Regions from separate parts of the Homo sapiens genome. Here all the other regions are linked to region 1. Evidence: promoter capture Hi-C in 16 types of primary human blood cells and fetal thymus (Javierre and others, 2016). All regions are on one chromosome and are shown on one strand. Each heading gives the region's core, a stretch centred on a gene start or on the middle of the fragment in contact. The rest is flanking DNA. Distances are from core to core; before and after follow the strand shown. Region 1 holds the start of NRAS (NRAS proto-oncogene, GTPase). Region 2 overlaps CAPZA1 (capping actin protein of muscle Z-line subunit alpha 1). Region 3 holds the start of RHOC (ras homolog family member C).

The links. The method cuts DNA at HindIII sites, captures the fragments that hold promoters and counts their contacts. A CHiCAGO score of 5 or more calls a contact.
Region 2: a contact is called between a fragment that was not itself captured here and the fragment with the promoter of NRAS in region 1, in 1 of 17 cell types (monocytes). The highest score is 5.4, in monocytes.
Region 3: a contact is called between the fragment with the promoter of RHOC here and the fragment with the promoter of NRAS in region 1, in 2 of 17 cell types (activated CD4 T cells and total B cells). The highest score is 7.0, in activated CD4 T cells.

Annotation. Positions count from the first base shown.
Region 1 is chr1:114,714,451-114,718,020 of GRCh38, forward strand. It overlaps NRAS (NRAS proto-oncogene, GTPase), which reads right to left and starts at 2,321. Exons shown (of 7, transcript NM_002524.5): 1 at 2,208-2,321; 2 at 1,600-1,727. The coding sequence starts at 1,710. It overlaps CSDE1 (cold shock domain containing E1), which reads right to left. Exons shown (of 20, transcript NM_001007553.3): 20 at 2,466-3,570. RefSeq lists enhancers at 2,017-2,116, 2,127-2,326. The HindIII fragment of the contact is 3,751 bases long and covers 1,783-3,570 here.
Region 2 is chr1:112,661,552-112,665,121 of GRCh38, forward strand. The region is part of intron 7 of CAPZA1 (capping actin protein of muscle Z-line subunit alpha 1); the gene reads left to right. Among named protein-coding and RNA genes, the nearest start is that of MOV10, 11 kb to the right of the region's middle. The HindIII fragment of the contact is 2,467 bases long and covers 325-2,791 here.
Region 3 is chr1:112,705,225-112,708,794 of GRCh38, forward strand. It overlaps RHOC (ras homolog family member C), which reads right to left and starts at 1,903. Exons shown (of 6, transcript NM_175744.5): 1 at 1,854-1,903. RefSeq lists an enhancer at 314-363 and a silencer at 1,623-2,342. The HindIII fragment of the contact is 12,151 bases long and covers 1-3,570 here.

The DNA.
Region 1 (3,570 bases), core at 1,071-3,570:
AGAGAAGGTTTTTTTTTTATCATGACAGATGTACCTTTGGGAAATATTCCTGAATCAAATTCTTAAAGGTTCCAAACAAGGTATAGTTATGTTTAATTTCTCAGGAAGACAAACATGCATAGATCATATAAAAAATACTTTCATTTTGGTTTTATGGCAACAGGACTTTTACTTGTATTTTAATGTCATCACACTTGGAGAACTCTCTGGAGTACTGGAAGTGCTCTATACTGTTATCTGGGTGGTAGCTACATGACTATATAGAAACGCAAAAAGCACTGGGCTGTAGACATAAAATTTATGTATTTTACTTATGTAAATTGCTCAATAAATCAAACATTTAAAAATATTTAATTAAAATATTAAACATTTCATGTAAAATATTAAAGCTGTTAAGCTCAAAATAAAGATTTTGCCAAGGGTTAGCAACCAATTTTTTATAGTGGCTACATTAGAGTTAGTTTTCATCAATTAAACACGAGTAGCCAGATGGTAGGGAGGCCAGGTGTTGATTAAAATAATCTCTAAAGTTAGGCATTTCTAAACTGAACAAAATTACAAAACCCTTTATTTATTTATCTATTTATTTATTTTTTGAGACGAAGTCTCGCTCTGTTGCCCAGGCTGGAGGTCTGTGGTGTGATCTCGGCTCACTGCACCCTCTGCCTCTGGTTCAAGCGATTCTCCTGCCTCAGCCTCCTGAGTAGCTGGGATTACAGGTGCCTGCCACCACACCCAGCTAATTTTTGTATTTTTAGTAGAGACGGGGTTTCACCATGTTGATCAGGCTGGTCTTGAACTCCTGACCTTGTGATCCGCCTGCCTCAGCCTCCCAAAGTGCTGGGATTACAGGCGTGAGCCACCGTGTCCGGCAAAACCCTTTATTTAAAGAGCCTTAGGTGCCACTTACTGAAGACAATCTGTACCATGAACTCTCATAATAACAATAGAATCCCTAAGTACTATTACATAGTGCTTTACCATTCATAAATAACTTAAATATATTATTTAACTTTCCATAACATCCCTGTGTGGTAGGCAGGACAAGTTTATGGTAATTTAAAACATGAGGAAAATGAGGTTGGGAGAGATTCAGTTGCTCAATATCACACAACTAAATAAACTGCAAACAGGGACCAAAATCCTAGGCATAAAGACTAAAAATCTCAAGTTCTTGCTACTCCAATCATCTGGTCTCAGCTGCTTCAACTAGCTAATAAATAAATATTGAAGAACACTCATCTCTGAATCCTTTATCTCCATCCTATTATCTCCCATACAATCAGACAGTCTCGCTACTATGGCCTGTGTTTCTCATGTAATAGAGCTGTTATATATGAAGAAACTCATGAATGAACTCAACACTGAGTTTGCAATAGTTTACAGAACTGTTAAAAACTGGACAGGTTTTAGAAACTTCAGCAGCTAATAAAAATGAACTGTTCTCTATAAACACGTTAAGCTTATTGCATAACTGAATGTATACCCAAAATAACTTTTTACTTTCTCTCCTCTTATTCCTTTAATACAGAATATGGGTAAAGATGATCCGACAAGTGAGAGACAGGATCAGGTCAGCGGGCTACCACTGGGCCTCACCTCTATGGTGGGATCATATTCATCTACAAAGTGGTTCTGGATTAGCTGGATTGTCAGTGCGCTTTTCCCAACACCACCTGCTCCAACCACCACCAGTTTGTACTCAGTCATTTCACACCAGCAAGAACCTGTTGGAAACCAGTAATCAGGGTTAATTGGCGAGCCACATCTACAGTACTTTAAAGCTTTCTATAATCAATGGAAATGAAAACCCTAGTGTGACCTTCCATTTGGTTCTTAAAGTGACTAGAGAACGCAAAAACACCGGATTAATATCGGCCTCACACTTCTGGAGTAGTTTTCTAGCAACCCCCATCCTTAGCTATTTTTCAACAGTCCTTGGGCCCCGCCCTCAGCCTAAGCAATGGAAATCCCCCTTCCTATTACTCCCCGAAGGCTTCTCAGCTCTAGCAGGAAGCCTCCAGGCCGCAACTCCTTCCCATTCTCCCTTCTGTCTCCAAAGATCTCCCCACGTAGGCACCAAATGGAAGGACCCCCGCCCAAGGCCTTTGTCTCCAGCTGATAGATTCTGCTCCATTTCTGGCATCAGTGAAACGCCTGAACATTCCACAGCCCAAAGCCGAACACTATGCATGAGATAAACTTACCTCAAGCTCCACTGCCTCTGCTTTGGACAGATTTAGGACCACAGCCGGGAAAAATGTTGGAGACCCCGGAACCGCCATGAACAGCCCCCACCAAGGAGCGGCACTTCCGGCCCCGCCCGCTACGTAATCAGTCGGCGCCCCAGGCGCCTGAGTCCCCGCCCCGGCCACGTGGGCCTCCGAACCACGAGTCATGCGGCAGGCCGCACCCAGACCCGCCCCTCCCACACGGGACGTTTCAATAATGAAAGCGCTAGGTGCTAGTGTCTCAAAAATCAGTAAAACTTTATTCGCTTCCATTCTTTCGCCATTAACAGAAAACTGGAGAAAGCAAAAATGTTTCGTGTTTACAAAGATAAACGGCCTCTTTACCCAGAGATCAAAACCTCAAACGACAAGGGGGAAGATAAAACCGCCCTCCCCCACATCCCCTGAGCTGACCCTTGTCATCTTAGACAAAGCCTTCAGTCCACTGGCCAGGGACCCTGTATATGGCCAATTCAAGAAGAGGGCCAAGAAATCAGACCCATCCATTCCCGTGATATAAAGTTGAACAGAAGCTACACCAAGGGTCAAGTGTCTGTATTTTACAGGACACAGTAACCAGGCGGCTACTTATAAAAAAAAACAAGATTCATTTCAGGCACAACTTTTTTATTTTTTTTTGTTTTGTTTTTAAATCAGTAAAAGAAACCGGGTCCTAGAAGCTGCAGTGATCTAAGCAGCAGCAAGTTTGTGCATTCATTTTTTTTGTTTTTGTTTAAATATGTTTAAATTATCACACTGCTGGCACTCCTCATTTGCATGAAATTCTGCACCATACTTACTAATTGTAGTAAAGTTACCCCCCAACCCACGAAAAAAAACCTACTCTGGAAGAAAATTTTCACTGAAATATAACCAAACTTCTTTAAGTGGATTGTGACAAGATTATAAATGATATGAAAAATAACATTTTAAAATTTGGCCATCAACTTTAAGAAATGGTTTGCCTATACAAATTTTTGTAATTTTTAAAAGATAATATATTCTACCCTCATATGGTCCTCAGAATTAAAGCATAATGAACAGGAAGAAAAAGGAAAAGAATGCAACTGAGTGCTAAGGCAGAACATCTTGCCAGAAGTAATTAATGAAGGTAGAGTATATAATGAAAAGTGCAGAATTTCATAGGGCCAACAAGATAACAGTCTATATTTTTCACTTACACAGGCAAAGTGGATTCTGCAATTACCAGTTGCGTTAAATGCACCAAATAAAGCTCCTAAAATTGATACTATAAGGCGCCACCTTAAGTTTTTCCAGGCTGCAACTGTGCATTATTTAAAATGGTTTTCTTAAATTTATTTATTTTTTTAAACATAAC
Region 2 (3,570 bases), core at 308-2,807, 2.1 Mb before region 1:
AGACAGCATACTGTTCTGTTTCTGTTAACAAAATATCTTAGTAGCCTAGCGCTCTAGATCTCTTGTAACTGTGGCATTAGCATTAACTTCCTAGAACCATGGTATCAGCATTGTAGAAGCTTATTGTAAATTTTGTGTAAATAAATTTTACTTTGTTTCTAGATGGAAACAGCCATTTGTATTTTAGCTCTGCCAGTGCAAACCTATAAAATAAGAGCACACATCACAAAGGGTGATAATTTATGGTAAGATTCAAAATACAGCCCAGTGTACAGACCCACATTTAAACCTTTTTAAGCACAGATTGAGCACACTTTTGGGGAAAGCTTATTTCATTTACATATCTTTTAAATTTTGGAGTGAGAATTATTTGGAAAAGTCGTTAAGATATTTAGCCTTTCAGGCTAGTCTATAGGCAAAAACATCGTTCTGAGAAGGCAACAATTTCTGAGGATTTATGTTGATGACAATCATGTTGAAATTTGTGTTAGTTAATTGAACCATTTTCATATTAGCAGATGAGACCTAGAAAAGGTCTTAGAACACATAAGTTTTGAGCTTAATTTCTTTCTTGAAACGGTGTATCTCAACTCTGTCACCTAGGCTGGAGTGCAGTGGTGCTTTCATAGCTCACTGCAACCTCAAACTCCTCAACTAAATGATCCTCCCACCTCATCCTCCCAAGCACCTAGTGCTACAAGCACATACCACTGTACCTGGCCAACTTTTTTTATTTTTTTGTAGAGTCGGGGTCTCACTATATTGCCCAGGCTGGGTTAATTTCTAAAAATTATAATAACATTAGTGTATTAGGTAATGAAATTAATATTTTTTAGAATTTTTCTTTTTTTTTTTTTTTTTTTTTGAGACAGAGTCTCGCTCTGTTGCCCAGGATGGAGTGCAGTGGCAGGATCTCGGCTCACTGCAAGCTCCACCTCCCGGGTTCATGCCATTCTCCTGCCTCAGCCTCCTGAGTAGCTGGTACCACAGGCGCCCGCCACCATACCTGGCTAATTTTTTGTATTTTTAGTAGAGACAGGGTTTCACTGTGTTAGCCAGGCTGGTCTCGAACTCCTGACCTTGTGATCCGCCTCCCTCAGCTTCCCAAAATGCTGGGATTACAGGCGTGAGCCACTGCGCCTGGCCCTAGAATTTTTCATTGAGATCAAAAACAGTGAGGCTTATTGACCTTACCCTATATTCCTTTCCATGTCCTAATTAAAAAACATAACAGAAGTTCAAACTAATTGTATAGTCTTTATTCTCGAACAAAAAGAATGTGCTCTGCATACCTCCTCTCTTTAGACAAGTTCTGAGAAATACAGAAGTTCTTGTTTCTTCTATGGCCAGATCTGTTGTTGTTTTTTTAAATATCTCCCATCCTGTTTGTAATAATTCCCCCCTGCCCCCTTTTTGTTTTGTTTTGTTTTTTGAGATGGAGTCTTGCTCTGTCGCCAGGCTGGAGTGCAGTGACACGACCTTGGCTCATTGCAACGTCCGCCTCCTGGGTTCAAGCGATTCTCCTGCCTCAGTCTCCCAAGTAGCTGGGCGTACAGGCGCATGCCACCACGCCCAGCTAATTTTTTGTATTTTTAGCAGACACCGGGTTTCACTGTGTTAGCCAGGATGATCTTGATCTCCTGACCTCGTGATGCGCCTACCTTGGCCTCCCAAAGTGCTGGGATTACAGGCGTGAGCCACTGCACCCGGCTCATTCCCCTTTTGAATGTTCTTTTCAGTCCCTGAACCTCTAGTTTTTTTAATGAAAAAACAAACAAAACTGATATTTGATTGTGACCTACTTGTATTTTAAATATTCTTATCTATTGGGATTTTAACCTTTATATGTCATCATCATTTAGCCCAGTCTTTTTTGCCCACATCTTTGCTGTTCTGATTTTACATGTAAGTATTAGTGGTTCTTATTATCACCCTTCTTTTCCATTGGATTCTCATCTTGTCTCCAGTGGATTCCAGTCTCTCTCTGTCACCCAGGCTGGAGTGCAGTGGTGCAATCTCAGTTCACTGCAGCCTCTGCCTCCTGGCTTCAAGTGATTCTCCTGTCTCAGCCTCCCAAGTAGCTGGGATTACAGGCACCTGCCACCATGCCTGCCTAATTTTTTTTGTATTTTTAGTAGAGACAGGGTTTCACCATGTTGGTCAGGCTGGTCTCGAACTCCTGACCTCAAGTGATCTGCCCACCTCGGCCTCCCAAAGTGCTGGGATTAAATGTGTGAGCCACCATGCCTGTTCTCAGTAGATTCTTATATTGTCTTTTCTTCTTTAACCTCTTAGAAAGCCAAAAGGTAAAATTTCAGGGTTTAGAGAGGGTATGGAAAGTCTAGCTTCTCATGCCCATCTGGATAGAGCCAGCTGTTTGTCCTCATTCAAGAAGATACTTGCCGGGCACGGTGGCTCACGCCTGTAATCCCAGCACTTTGGGAAGCCAAAGCAGGGGGATCATGAGGTCAAGAGATCGAGACCAGCCTGGGCAACACAGTGAAACCCCATCTCTGTTAAAAATACAAAAATTAGCTGGCCATGGTGGCACGCACCTGTAGTCCCAGCTACGTGGGAGGCTGAGGCAGGAGAATTGCTTGAACCCAGGAGGCAGAGGTTGCAGTGAGCCGACATCAGCCACTGTGCTCCAGCTTGGGCGACAGAGCGTGACACTGTCTCAAAAAAAAAAAAAAAAAAAGATACTTATTTTTGTCCTTTAAACAAGGATAGGTAGGGGGTTCTTGTTATCCAGGAAAGTCTTTTTGTTGCAAATAGCTTTCTGCCTAGATGAAGCTTGACTGTTAGTTATGCCCTTCTAATGATATCCACAAAGAGTAAGCCCCTGCTGAGACACTATTTCTCCCCAGATCAAGGAATTTCTAACTTTTTGACAAAACATAGCATTGGGAGGTATTACATATGTTGGATAGCTCTGGAATTTGACCTAATTCAAATCCTAGCTCCTCCTCTTACTAGGTGTGTGAACATGGATAAGTTATTGTTTAATAACTGCCTCAAGGCAAACTTCAGTTTCCTCAGCTGTAAAATAGGGTTAGTCGTAGTCCTCATCTCATAAGAGTTTTTGTAAAGATTAAATGTGGTGGCCTAGCGCAGTGGCTCATGACTGTAATCCCAGTACTTTTGGGAGACCGAGGTGGGTGGATCACAAGGTCAGGAGTTCGAGACCAGCCTGGCCAACATGGTGAAACCTCGTCTCTACTAAAAATACAAAAGTTAGCCGGGCGTGGTTGCGGGTGCCTGTAATCCCAGCTACTTGGGAGTCTGAGGCAGGAGAATCACTTAAAGCGGGGAATCGGAGGTTGCAGTGAGCCGAGATCGTGCCATTGCACTCCAGCCTGGGCGACAAGAACAAGACTCTGTCTCAAAAAAAAGGATTAAATGAGGGAATATAAGTAATAGTGAAGTGTTTGCACAGTGTCTAACACATAGTAAAGGCTTAATAAATAATAGCTCCTACAGCTAAGATTACTGAGTAAGTGAGATGAAGTAAGTGAAGATTACTGTTCTTCTCTTTTCCTTTTCTGCTTTATCCCTCAAAACATTCTGTTT
Region 3 (3,570 bases), core at 653-3,152, 2.0 Mb before region 1:
GACAAATGAGGGCCAGTCCCAGCACCAACCAGGCAGGGAGCAGTTAAGAAAGCGACGGTAACCTGATCTCAGCCTCAAACCTAGCTTTTTCTCTCAGTCCCACATCCTGTCAAACTGGGCTGACTGAACGCCTCTACTCCCCACACCCCACCACCACCTCACACTGCCCTTTAGGAAGCGAATACTCCAGCCCCAGGCCTCTTCCCTTCAACATAGATCCTGAGTGGCCCTTCCCTTGCCTCCAGACACATTCACAAAACTGTTGGTTTTGTGGACATGAGTCAGAGAATTTACAGGAGTTCAAAGTACACAGCCACACTCTTCCCACCACAAAACGGACTCTCTCTGATTCCCCAGAAGACAAGCAAGAAGGCATTCACCCTGTCGGCAGATCGCCTCCAGAAATGGAAACCATCCTCCAAAAAGAGGGTTCCTTGGGAATTCTATCCCGGTGACTGACGCTGGGATTTCTTCCAACTCCTCCACCCACTCCATTAGTTCACCTTGCCCTGTTTTGTAAAGATGGGCTGGGGTAGCCCCAACCTGGGGTGGGCAGTGTTGATGGAGGGCAATCACTACTGGGGTGAAAGCCAGTCACTTAGGCATGAGTATGCCACTGCTGTCCCCCCAGCAGGGTAATTCAGACGGCACCAGAGTGGTGGGAGGCAGAGGACAGAAACCCGGGGTTGAGGCATGCGTTAAGGGACCTGGAGCCTCCAGCCCAATTAGAAGACTTTCCCTCCAGGCTATGATTGGGCCAGAACAGCAGGCAGCCCAGGCCAGGACACTAGGCCCAAGGCCAAGATGGCATGGACAACTCCCTGTGAGAGGCAGCCCCAGAGGGACTGTCCCACTGACCCCTTAAGAGGGGCAACTGAGCCCCACACAGGGCCTGGAATGGAGCCTGGAACTTCTGGGGCCTTCCCCAAGACAAGACAGTGTGGCTACATCAGACCTCTCTCCAATCGCTCTCTTGAATTCCCAGATGATCCAGAGCGGCCGGTTGACTTTGCCGGCCCACCCTACACCTAGGGAAGGAATCCGTTCTGGAGATACCAAGAGATACTGCATTCTCAACTTTAAAACCAGAGTGAGGGCGGGACTCGGCCTCGGGATCCCAGTCCCAAACCCCAGGATACTCTTTCTTGGTTCGAGTATGAAGAAGGAGGATTCTCAATCTCATTTTCTCTCTCTCTCTCTCTCTCTACACACACACACACACACACACACACACACACACCACACACACACACACACACACACACACACACACACACACACACACACACACACACACACACACACACACACACAGAGTTGGATCCTTCCCCATCTCCCTTATCCTCAACACAAGCGGGCTCCAGGAACCGTCCAGGGCGGCGTCCAGACCCTGCCGAGCAGTGGCAGGCCCCAATGGTCACATCCCGCCCCTATTCCCGCCATACCTCCCTCCTGGCCTGGAGGAATTCCCACCCCATCCCACTCTAGGTCCCCTGCGGCCGCCCACCCTGGGGGCTGGGGCGTCTGAGTTGAAGTTCCCTCGCCCCTCGCCCGGCGGGGCAGGTTCCGGGAAGCTGGGAGGAGAAGGGAAGGGGCTCCGACTCGGACCTCAGGAGGCCAGAGCCCCTGCCGGCAGGTCCGGGCCCCCTCGCTGCAGCCCGGGGAGGGGCCGACGCGGTCCGACCACCGCCCAGCCCGGATGCCGACTCCGCTTGGAGGGAACGGGGTCCACGCCCAGGCCGAAGCCCCTCCTCGCACGGGCCCCGATCTCCGGGCCAGCGAGGAAGGGAAAGTGCTCTCCTGGGGACGAGTTCCCAAGACGCCCCACCGCCCGCAGCCCCGGCCCAGGGTACCTTCCGCTCCGCCGCCTCCAGCTGCGCGGCCGGTGCCGGAGGCTCAGACTGACCCCAGGGCCCCGCCCCGCCCTCCTCCAGCGCCGCGGCGGGGAGGGCGGGCCCGGCAGGGGGAGGGTCGGCCGGGGGCGGCCCTTGGCTCGGCCCGCCCCGGCCCCGCGCAGGGCCGCAGCCACCGGCCCCCTCCGCAGGCCGGGGACTGGGGGCCAGGGGCGTCCACCCCTCCAGGTCGGGGAGAGCCACGGGGAGATTCCTGGACTGCGGAGGAGCCGGGCGAGCGGGGGGAGCACGACCCGGGTGGACTCAGACTCTGCCCAGCCTTCAATCCCCTAGGGGAGGACCGGCGTCGGGAAAGTTAAGAGGTGCTCGGGGTGGGGTCAGGAAGGGCCGCTGCTGCCCTCCTGTGGCCAAGCGGCCACCCGCTCCTGCTGCACCTGGGACCTCGCGGGAAGCGGGACTGGGAAAGGGTATCCGCCGGGAGGTCCCAGGGCCCGGCGCGGGTGTGTTGGTTGGGGGGAGATGTCCACCCTCTTGTTCCTAGGATCGTACAGCCCAACGTCATCCCCCAAACTTGAAGACCTCTCAGAGCCGTTCAGACCCAGACCACCGTTCCTCCTCACAATTCGCTTTCTTCCCTGGGCCTGGAATTTCCAGGAGTCCAATTCCTACCTACTCCTCAAAGGGTGCGCCTAGAAATGCTTCTGGATCCCAGCTGTGAATTCTGTTCCCACTCCTAGGTCTGACTTGGCGCATAGGATATTTACCTACACGCGTATCTCCTTTCCCTGTAAGGGAGCTGAGGAGGTGGGAGTAGAATGAGGACGTCCACCAACATTTCATTGGCTTGTGCTTGGGACACTACACAGCTTAACCCTTTCAATATTCATCACAGATCTCTGGGGAAAATATACCCATCCCCTTTTGCCCATAGAGAAGCTGAGGTTCAGAGAAATCAAGTGGCTTACACAACTGTTTTTGACTTGTGACAGCAAGAATTCACACAGCCGGGCCTGTCTGGCTCCAAACTGGTGGTCTGGCCCTGCTACCTCACGGGCTCCTCCAGCCTGTCCCTTCCCCCGTTGTCTAGCAGAGTGAGTGGCACATAATAGGTTGTCAACAAATATTTGATGAATGAATGAATGTTAGGAGTCATACAGACTTTAAATATCTGAAGTGCAATCCAGACATTTGACAAATGTGAAAACAGGTCCGCAGCAGTTTGGCCCCAGGCCTCTTAACTGACTCAATGAACATTTCTCGAGGGTGAACTGAGAGCTATGTTCGGAAGATCCATTTCTGCCTTCAAACAACTTAGAGTCTAAATGAGGAATGCAATTTCAAGATAGCTAACATTTATTGAATCCATATTACATGGACCTGGGTCCACATACATTAACTACAAGAATCCCATGAGGTAGCTATCTCCATTTTACTGAGAAGCAAATTGAGGTTCAGAGAGGTTACAGAGCTAGTGCTGGGTCTGACACTAGAACCCAAACAGCTGAACTCTAGAGCCCCTGTTCTTAATTCCTACTCCCTACTGACTCCTAATGTAGACAGTTACAATACCGGAGGTCATTGCTGTAGTGTGGGCATGTGTGGGCTGTGCGATACCCAGTCCTGAACAACAGGTGAAGTTCTCAAGATAAGGTGATGTGTAGATTTTTTTAATTTTAATTTTTTTTTGAGACAAGGTCTCTGTTGCCTAAGTGTGCAG